Regions from separate parts of the Homo sapiens genome. Here region 1 is linked to region 2. The links are contacts of gene promoters, found by promoter capture Hi-C in blood cells and fetal thymus (Javierre and others, 2016). All regions are on one chromosome and are shown on one strand. The core of a region is centred on a gene start or on the middle of the fragment in contact, and the rest is flanking DNA. Distances in the headings are between cores, read along the strand shown. Region 1 has its middle 2.6 kb from the start of LRRC43. Region 2 holds the start of BCL7A (BAF chromatin remodeling complex subunit BCL7A).

What was found. Contacts are between HindIII fragments. The CHiCAGO score rates a contact against its expected background, and 5 or more counts as called.
Region 1: a contact is called between a fragment that was not itself captured here and the fragment with the promoter of BCL7A in region 2, in 2 of 17 cell types (M1 macrophages and M0 macrophages). The highest score is 5.6, in M1 macrophages.

Annotation. Positions count from the first base shown.
Region 1 is chr12:122,178,239-122,182,799 of GRCh38, forward strand. It overlaps a transcript of LRRC43 not described here. Among named protein-coding and RNA genes, the nearest start is that of LRRC43, 2.6 kb to the right of the region's middle. The HindIII fragment of the contact is 1,531 bases long and covers 2,329-3,859 here.
Region 2 is chr12:122,018,640-122,023,714 of GRCh38, forward strand. BCL7A (BAF chromatin remodeling complex subunit BCL7A) reads left to right here and starts at 3,245. Exons shown (of 6, transcript NM_001024808.3): 1 at 3,245-3,544. The coding sequence starts at 3,453. RefSeq lists silencers at 3,124-3,203, 3,334-3,653, 3,804-3,963 and an enhancer at 3,798-4,613. The HindIII fragment of the contact is 6,381 bases long and covers 170-5,075 here.

The sequences.
Region 1 (4,561 bases), core at 1,844-4,343, 160 kb after region 2:
GCCTTCATTTTACATGACCCCTCTATAGCATGAAACATTGCCAACCACTTCCACCTTCTTGACAACCTCTCGTAACAACCTCTCCTGTAACAACGTCATCCTGATCCCTTTTGCCCCTCTCCCTAGCTCCACGGTGTCCACCCGTGATCTGGATTCCTCACACTTTACTGTCTGTCTCCTTCACACTCCAGACCTAAATGTCCACCTGAATGTCCCAGTGATACCTCAAAATCAACATGCCCAAAGGTGAGGGTGAGAAGAGGGTAATAGTGATAGTGGAGATGAAGAGGTGTGGATGGGTTGTAGAAATGTTTAGGAGGAAAAATACGTAAGAGGTGGCTTTCTTTTTTTTTTTTTTTTTTTTTTTTTTTGAGACATTGTCTTGCTCTGTCACCTGGCCTGGAGTGCAGTGGCATGATCTCGGCTCACCACAACCTCTGCCTCCCGGGTTCAAGCGATTGTCCTGCCTCAGCCTCTTGAGTAGCCGGGATTACAGGCGTGAGCCACCACTCTTGGCGTTTTTTTGTTTGTTTGTTTTTCTTGTATTTTTAGTAGAGATGGGGTTTTTTCATGTTGGCCAGGCTGGTCTTGAACTCCTGACCTTGTGATCCACCTGCCTCGGCCTCCCAAGGTGCTGGGATTATAGGCGTGAGCCATGGTGCCTGGCCAGGGTGGTGTTTGATTGGATATGGGGATGGTGGAGAGGGAAGAGTTGAGGACAACCTCTGGGTTTCTGGTTTGAGCAACTGGATAAATGATATTGGTACAAACGAAGAGGATCACAGGCCTCAGGCCTTTGGGGCTCGGGTGAGGTGATGAATTCTGGCTCTTTGCTTGTTGGTTGGCTGGTTTGGTTTGGTTTTCTTTTCTTTAAGAGGCAAGGTCTCAGTCTGTCACCTAGGCTAGAGTGCAGTGGTGTGATCACAGCTCACTGCAGCCTCAAACTCCCAGGCTCAAGAGATCCTTCCGCCTCAGCCTCCTGAGTAGCTGGGGTTATAGGCACACGGCATACCACCAGGCCTGGCTAACTTTTTAATTTTAACTTTTTGTAGAAATAAGATCCTCCTCTATTGCCTAGGCTGGTCTTAAACTCCGGGGCTCAAGCAATCCACTCACCTTGGCCTCCCAAAGTGCTGCGACTGTAGGTGCAAGCCACGTGCCCGGCCTGATTCAGCTTTTGACACAGTGAATGGGAAGTGTTATGGATGCTCAGCTGAAGACACACAGTAGGCTGTTGGACGTGTGGATCTGAAGCGTGTAGGAAGGAACTACAGATGTAAATGTGGGTGCCATCAAGGTATTGTGGCAGATAAAACTGTAAGCCAGTAAGAGATGAGCAGTGTGAGGTGTGGAAGTCGTGTGGAGCCCTGGGACATGCTTCCATTAACAGGACAAGGAGAAGATGATGATTTAATCTAGAACATGGAGAAGGCACTCTCAAGAGAAAAAGAAGGCTGGGTGCGGTGGCTCACACCTGTAATCCCAGCACTTTGGGAGGCCGAGGCGGGCGGATCACGAGGTCAAAAGGTCGAGACCATCCTGGCCAACATGGTGAAACCCTGTCTACTAAAAATACAAAAAAATTAGCTGGGTGTGGTGGCGCGTGTCTGTAGTCCCAGCTACTCAGGAGGCTGAGGCAGGAGAATTGCTTGAACCCAGAAGGTGGAGGTTGCGGTGAGCCGAGATTGCGCCACTGAACTCCAGCCTCGTGACAGAGTGAGACTCCGTCTCAAAAAAAAAAAAAAAAAAAGAGAGAGAGAAAGAAAAGTAACACCAGAAATACATGTTGTCATGGAATAAGATGAAAAGCAGTTTTTCAAGGAGGAAATGGTTGGCATCATCAAAAGCCATGAAGAGGTCAAATAAGATAAAGGCTGAGGAGATTCACTAGATTGGGCAACATGAGGTCACAGAAACTTTGCTGGGAGAGTTTGAATAAATTTTTGGTGTGGCAGTTATATTGTGGTGGTTTGGGAAGTGAGGAAAAAGTGAGCATAGGCCAGGGGCGAGTGGCTCACACCTGTAATCCCAGCACTTTGGGAGGCCAAGGCAGGTGGATCACTTGAGGTCAGGAGTTCGAGACCAGCCTGACCAGCATGGAGAAACCCTGTCTCTACTAAAAATACAAAAACTAGCTGGGCATGGTGGCGGGAGCCTGCAATCCCAGCTACTCAGAAGGCTGAGGCAGGAGAATTGCTTGAACCCAGGAGGCGGAGGTTGCAGTGAGCCAAGATTGCGCCACTGCACTCCAGCCTGGGCAACAGAGCAAAACTCCGTCTCAAAAGAAAAGAAAAAAAGAAAAAGTGAGTATAGACCACTGTGTCAAGAAGCTTGGATGAGAAGGAAGAGAAAAGAGACAGTGTTGGCTGCAGGGGGACTTGGGATGAAGGGTGGAAGGGCTTCCTGGCTGGGCCTCTTCTGTGTATCTTGGGCTCTGTGGTCTGCCCAGACCTGACCTCATTCCTGAGCTCTTACTCCTAACCAATGGCTGATTTGACACAGTAGACGCCCATTGGCATCTGGACCTTAACTTGTTCCAAACAGGATGCTTGATTTCCCCTCTCAGTCTTCTCTTCCTTCACTGCACATTGTCCATCTGTTGCTCCATCAAAATTGCAGGAGCCATATCTGTGATTCATCTCCTTGATTTATTTATATCACTATGGACTCATAGATATTTATTTTATTCTTTGAGAGCCAGGCATGGTGGCTCACGCCTGTGATCTCAGCACTTTGGGAGGCTGAGGTGGGTGGATCACTTGAGGTCAGGAATTCGAGACCAGCCTGGGCAACATGGCGAAACCCCATCTGTACTAAAAATACAAAAAAATTAGCCAGGCATGGTGATGCATGCCTGTAGTCCCAGCCACTCAGGAGGCTGAGGTGGGAGGACCGCTTCAGTTCAGGAGGTCCAGGCTTCAGTGACCTGTGATCACGCTACTGCACAGTAGCCTGGATAACAAAGGGAGACCCTGCCTCAAAAAAAAAAAAGGATATTTTCTTCTTTGAAAGGACATATGGTTGGCTGGGCCCGGTGGCTCATGCATGTAATCCCAGCACTTTGAGAGGCTGAGGTGGGCGGATGACGAGGTCAGGAGATCGAGACCATCCTGACTAACACGGTGAAACCCCGTCTCTACTAAAAATACAAAAAATTAGCCGGGCTTGGTGGCGGGCGCCTGTAGTCCCAGCTACTCAGGAGGCTGAGGCAGGAGAATGGCGTGAACCTGGCAGGCGGAGCTTGCAGTGAGCCGAGATTGCACCACTGCACTCCAGCCTGGACGGCAGAGGGAGACTCCGTCTCAAAAAAAAAAAAAGGAAAAGAAAGGACATATGGTCATCTTTTTGCCTTAACTCCCAGTTTTGGATAAATTTTTTTTTTTTTTTGAGACAGTCTCACTCTGTTGCCCAGGCTGGAGTGCAGTGATGTGATCTCGGCTCACTGCAACCTCCGCCTCCTGGGTTCAAGCAATTCTCCTGCCTCAGCCTCCGAAGTAGCTGGGACTATAGGCATGTGTCACCACGCCTGGCTAATTTTTGTATTTTTAGTAGAGACGGGGTTTCACCATGTTGATCAGGCTGGTCTCGAACTCCTGACCTCAGGTGATCCACCCACCTCAGCCTCCCAAAGTGCTGGGTTTACAGGGGTGAGCCATCGCGCCCAGCCTAATTTTTCTAATAACAGTAAAGTTGTCCCGATATCGTATAGTCAAAAAGAATGAGAGATGTTAATGTGTTCCTCCAAAATTCATTTGTCAGAACCTGATGCCCAGTGTGATAGTATTAAAACGTGGGGCCCTTTGGGAAGTGATTAAGTTTGGGGGCTCCTCAGGAATGGGATCAATGTCCTTATAAAAGAAGCTTCATGGCTGGGCGTGGTGGCTCACGCCTGTAATCCCAACACTTTGGGAGGCTGAGGCCAGTGGATTGCCTGAGCCCAGGAGTTTGAGACCAACCTGGGCAACATGGTGAAACTCCATCTCTACTAAAATACAAAAAATTAGGCTGGGTGCGGTGGCTCACGTATGTAATCCCAGCACTTGGGGAGACCGAGGTGGGTGGATCACCTGAGGTCAGGAGTTCGAGACCAGCCTGGCCAACATGGTGAAACCCCGTCTCTACTAAAAATACACATTAGCGGGGCGTTGTGGCAGGCGGTTGTAATCCCAGCTACTCGGGAGGCTGAGGCAGGAGAATCGGTTGAATCTGGGAGGCGGAGGTTGCAGTGAGCCGAGATCGCGCCATTGCACTCCAGCCTGGACAACAAGAGTGAAACTCGGTCTCAAAAAAAAAAAAAAAAAAAAAAAAGCCGGAAGTGGTCATGCGCGCCTGTAATCCCAGCTACTCGGGAGGCTGAGGCAGGAGAATCGCTTGAACCCGGGACACGGAGATTGCGGTGAGCTGAGATCTCGCCACTGGACTCCAGCCTGGGCGACAGAGCGAGACTCTGTCTCAATAAAATAAAATAAATAAAAAATTTAAAAAATGAGGTCTGGGTGATTAAACAGTTATACAGGTGGACAGTGATAAAATCCCTGACTCCAGGGTTAGAGAGACCACC
Region 2 (5,075 bases), core at 1,995-4,494:
GAGCAAGACCTAGCAGAAACAGACTCTTGGAGACTTCAAATACTAGAATCATCAGACACAGGCTGTAAAACTACTGTGCTTTGTTGAAAGAAAGAAGTGTAAAAATACCTGCAGGAGACAGGAAACTACTAAAAGTGACATACTAGATTTACAAAGGACATTTGAAGAAAGCTTTATGGTTTTATTGGGGATCAAAATCACAAATACTTTCAGGGGCCAGACAGGTAACACAAATGAGTAAAGTGGCTATGAGTGCACTGGTGACCCAGATAACTCTGTCTGAAAGATACAGACAGAGCTCTCTGCTCTAGCCGATGGGTGCCATGTGGCACTGAGGGTCCAGTTTGCAGATCTGCTGGTTCTAGAGAAGCTGGGTATTTTTTTTTTTCCTTCCTTCCTTCCTCCCTCCCTCCTTCCCTCTTTTTCTTCCTTCTTCCTTCCCTCCCTCTCTCCTTCTCCTCATCCCTCTCTCTTTTCTTCTTTCTTTCTTTCGTTCTTTCTTTTCTCTCTCTCTCTCTCTCTCTCTCTTTCTTTGCTTCATGCAGTGGCATGATCTTGGCTCACTGCAGCCTCTACGTTCTGGGCTCAAGCCATCTTCCCCACCTCAGCCTCCTGAGCAGCTGGGGCTGCAGATGCGCACAACCACACCTGGCTATTTTTTGAATTTTTTGTAGAGATGGGGTTTCACCATGTTGCCCAGGCTGGTCTCAAACTCCTGGCCTCTAGCAGTCCACCCACCTCGGCCTCCCAAAGTGCTGGAATCACAGATGTGAGCCACCGCGCCCAGCCTAGATTTCTTTTTATTATGATCAAATACACATAAAATTGACCATTGTAACCATTTAAAAGTGTACAATTCAGCGTCATTAAGTACATTCACATTGTTCTGCAACCATCACCACTATCTCATTCCAGAACTTTCCTATCACTCCGAAAGGAAACCCCACATCCGTTAGCAGTCACTCCTGCTCTCCCTCCCCCTTGCCTCTGGCAACCACCAATCTGATATCTGTCTTTATGGATTCGCCTAGTTGTAGATATCTCCCGCAAATGGACTTACGCATATTTATCCTTTTGTGACTGGCTTCTTTCACTTAGCGTGTTTCAAGGTTCACCCATGTTGTAGCATGTATTCATTCCCTTTTATGGCTGAATAATATTCCATTGTGTGGATAGACACATTTATCTGTTCCTCAGTCACTATTTGAATTCTGACATAATATTTTCCTATTTTAAATTTTAAGATACATTTTTTTAAAGTTTCATGTGGCCCAAAGCACATACCTATTGATCTCACATATCTCTGTGAGATCTGTTTTATGACCTGCTGTTGCATATTTTCCCAGAAAATTCTCGGAACGATTCTCTGAAGTCCTTCTTTCTCTTTCTCTTTTTTTTCTTTTTCTTTCTCTCTTTCTTTTTTTGTTTTGTTTTGTTTTATTTTGTTTTGTTTTGTTTTTTTGAGATTCAGTTTTGCTCTGTTGCCCAGGCTGGAGTGCAATGGCATGATCATTGCACCTCTGCCTCCCAGGTTCAAGCATTTTCCTGCCTCAGCCTCCCGCGTAGCTCAGATTACAGGCCTGCACCACCACGCCCAGCTAATTTTTGTATTTTTAGTAGAGACAGGGTTTCTCCATGTTGGCCAGGCTGGTCTCGAACTCCTGACCTCGTGATCTGCCCACTTCGGCCTCCAAAGTGCTGGGATTACAGGCATGAACCACCGCGCCCGGCCTTTTTTTTTTTTCTGAGACAGGGTCTCACTCTGTCTCCCAGGCTGGAGTGCAGTGGCTGGATCTCTGCTCACTGCAACCTCCGTCTCCCAGGTTCAAGCGAGTCTCCTGCCTCAGACTCCCGAGTAGCTGCGATTACAGGAGCCCACCACCGCGCCCGGCTAATTTTTGTATTTTTAGTAGAGACGGGGTTTCACCCACCATGTTGGCCAGGCTGGTATCGAACTCTTAACCTCAAGTGATCCACCCGCCTCGGCCTCCCAAAGTGCTGGTATTACAGGCATGAGCCACCGCGCCCGGCCAGTATTTGTTCTTTTCTTCATTTTTCACGTCAGGAGACTGCGTTTCAGAATAGTAAAAACAAATGCCTAGGAAAAGGCCTGCGGTCTCTCCATTTCCACAGTAGCGTGTTCCCCAAAGACCAAACCCTCAGGGGAAACGTCTAGAATGAGTAACAACTTAAGGCTGCAACCTTAAACTTTCCCAGGACTCAGTTTCCCCAGCTGTGAAATGGCTGCTGTCGGGCTGTCATCTCCAGGCCCGGGGCGCTGACATTTGGGCCACTCTCGGTCTCCCTCTTCATTCTGGGCGCGCATTAGCTCTGGTCCGGCCGGTTCCGCTGCAGCTGAACAGCAAGATGCGGCACCCAGGTTACCCTGATCATCGCAGATTTCTCCCCGGGGCTCTGTTCTGAGGCCTCAAAAGTGCTCCTTGTAGATGGGACCAGGGGTCATTTGGGCAGTAGCAGCGCCTGGTCTCAGTCTGGTACTGAAGTCAGGAATGGCTTAAGGTGAAATCGTGGTCCTCTGGTGAAGCTCAGCGAAGACCCCCTCGCCTTGTTTATGACAAGAGAACTTCTGGGGGCGGGAGGAAGAGTCCCTGTTACGATGCTGATCATCATTGAGCTTTTGCTGAGCAGAAAACTCTTTAGTACTCAAGGTCGAGAGTCTCTGGTGGTCTGCCTGGCACCAGGCACCTTCCTACAACCCTAGTTTTCCAAAAGGACAAAGCCTGGGGCAGGCGACGTCCTAGCTCGCATTTGAACAGGGCCGCGGGCCAGCAGAGATGCGCGATGCCCAACTCTTTCCAAGAGCACCTCGCGTCCCGAACCGGTGCCTTCAACTCGGAGAAGTCAAGAGACCCGCAAGAAACTTGCACGACTGCACCCGCCGCCGCGCTCTGGGGGCTGGGCAGGGGCAGCTGGGCTGGCTCCCGGGGAACGCGACCCCCCCGCGCCCCGCAGACCGGCTGTCTCCCATGGACCCCTCGGCACCTGCAGCCTCCGAGGAAGGGTCAGCGCGCGTGTCCGCACGCCCGCCCCCACCGCGCGCCCAGAGCCGGGGGTCGCCGTGCGCCCTTCGCCACCTCCCCAGGAGGGCGTCCGGGGCGTCCCCTCTGGGGGCGCAGGAGGCCCGGGGGCGCTGCCCGGTGGCCGCGGCGCCCGGAGGCCGCACTGCCGGCGGCGGCGGCGGCGCGGCTCCCCCTGCTCTGTGCAGCTGCCGCCCGGCGCTTGCGCACTGGGCCAGGCGCGCGGCGGCCCCGGGCTTTGTGTGTGTGTGTATGTGTGTGTGTGTGTGTGTGTGTGTGTGAGTGTGTGCGTGTGAGAGTGCGAGTGTCTGTGCGCGAGTGAGTGAGCGGCGGGCGGGCGCGAGTGTGGCCGCCGCGGAGCGCGAGCAGGACCCGGCGGGCGCGCTCCCCAGCCTCCGTCTCCCCGCCGGAACCATGTCGGGCAGGTCGGTTCGAGCCGAGACGAGGAGCCGGGCCAAAGATGATATCAAGAGGGTCATGGCGGCGATCGAGAAAGTGCGCAAATGGTAAGCGGAGGCGCCCGCCGCCAGCCGCCTCCCCGGCCGCCCCGAGCCCGAGCGCGGCTCCAGAGAGCCGCGGGGCGCAGCGCCCCGGCCGCCTGCCCCGGCCCAGCCCCGCCGCGGGCCCCGGGACTTGGCGAGGGCGGGCGGACGGGCGGGCGGCGCGCGAGCCGGGTCACCTGCGCCAGGCTGGGGCCGCGGCCGCTGCCCAGGTGCGCTCGCGCCTGTAGCCCACCTGGCGCGGCGGCCCGGAGGCGGCGGGCGCCGGGGCCAGGCGGTTGGAGCGGCGGGGCGGCCCCCGCCGCGGCGCTCGGCTCCCGGGAGGGGGGCTCGGGGCCGGCCCCAGAAGCCATTTCGTTTTGTGCAAGTCACATGAAAGCGGCTTCCCGCGCGCCGGGGCCGCGATGCCGGCGGCGGCGGGGAGAGCGCGAGCTCCATTGTGCAGGCTCCGAGCGGGCCGCCGCCGCCGTCTCCTCCCCGCGCACCCCGGCCCGCGCCCCGCCGCCCTCCGCCAGCCCCGGCCCGCCCGGCCGCCCGCTCCCGCCTCCCGGGCCCGGCGCCCTCGAGTCTGCGGAGTTTGCAGAGCGCGAGCCGTTTAAATTTAGCGCTTTGGGCTGCCTGGAGCGAGGGCTCTCGGCGACCAGGAAAGATGGGGGCGAGCGCTGGGAGCCAGCGGCCAGGGGCGCGGGGCGCCCACGTCCCACCCCGCTCTGCGCGGCGCCCCGGGCGGGGGGCTCGGGCCAGCCGATGTTTTTGGCCAGAAGCCGTTCGTCCTGGGCCGCGGCTGCCTCTCCACACCGGGAGCTCGTGTTTGTTTTGCGGAGGGAGCTGTTGTTTTTGTTCTCTGCACCGGGGAGAGGGGGACTTGGTGGCGGCCGCGCGTGGTTTTCGGGATCACATTAGCGTCCGCCCGGCGTGGCCCGGTCGACATTAAGGGGATCGAACCTTTCCGCGGCCTCGTCGGGGTCTGCTCGGAATCGGCCCCTGGGCCAGGCCCGAGGCGCAAGCAGATCGCCAGGTTGGGTCAGAGTTGTTGAAAACTCCCCGCTGCCTGATTTCAACTTTATTATTTTTTTCCCACGCCTTCACTGGGGTCCCGGAGGGAGAGGAGCCGCCGCAACGCTGGCTCTGAGTGTCAGCGCCCGCGGGCTCGTCTCGACCCTTTATTTCGAGCCTGGAAGCTGGGCAGGCCCTGTGGCAGGGGATGTTTACGTTTGGGGGTGTCGTTTCTCGAGTAGCGCCTCGGTCTCTAAAAGCCACTGGGGGCGAGCCTCCGGTGTGGCGGTGTCACAAGTTAGCTGTCCTTTCTGAGTCAAACCCAACAAAAAAGGCAAGAGGAAAATCAATAAAGTCCACGTGCTCCCCGGCCTCCTATGGAAAGGGCTGGCTGCGATGGCCGGATGCCCGGCCGTGGGCTGGGTTTGGCTCCAGTGGGACAAAGAATTTTCAGAACCGTGAGAAGGGGAGGCTTTCCAAAGTTGAGATCCAAGTCGTCGGTGTCTCGGGAGCTCCCCTGGTACACAGGGTGCCCGGTGCC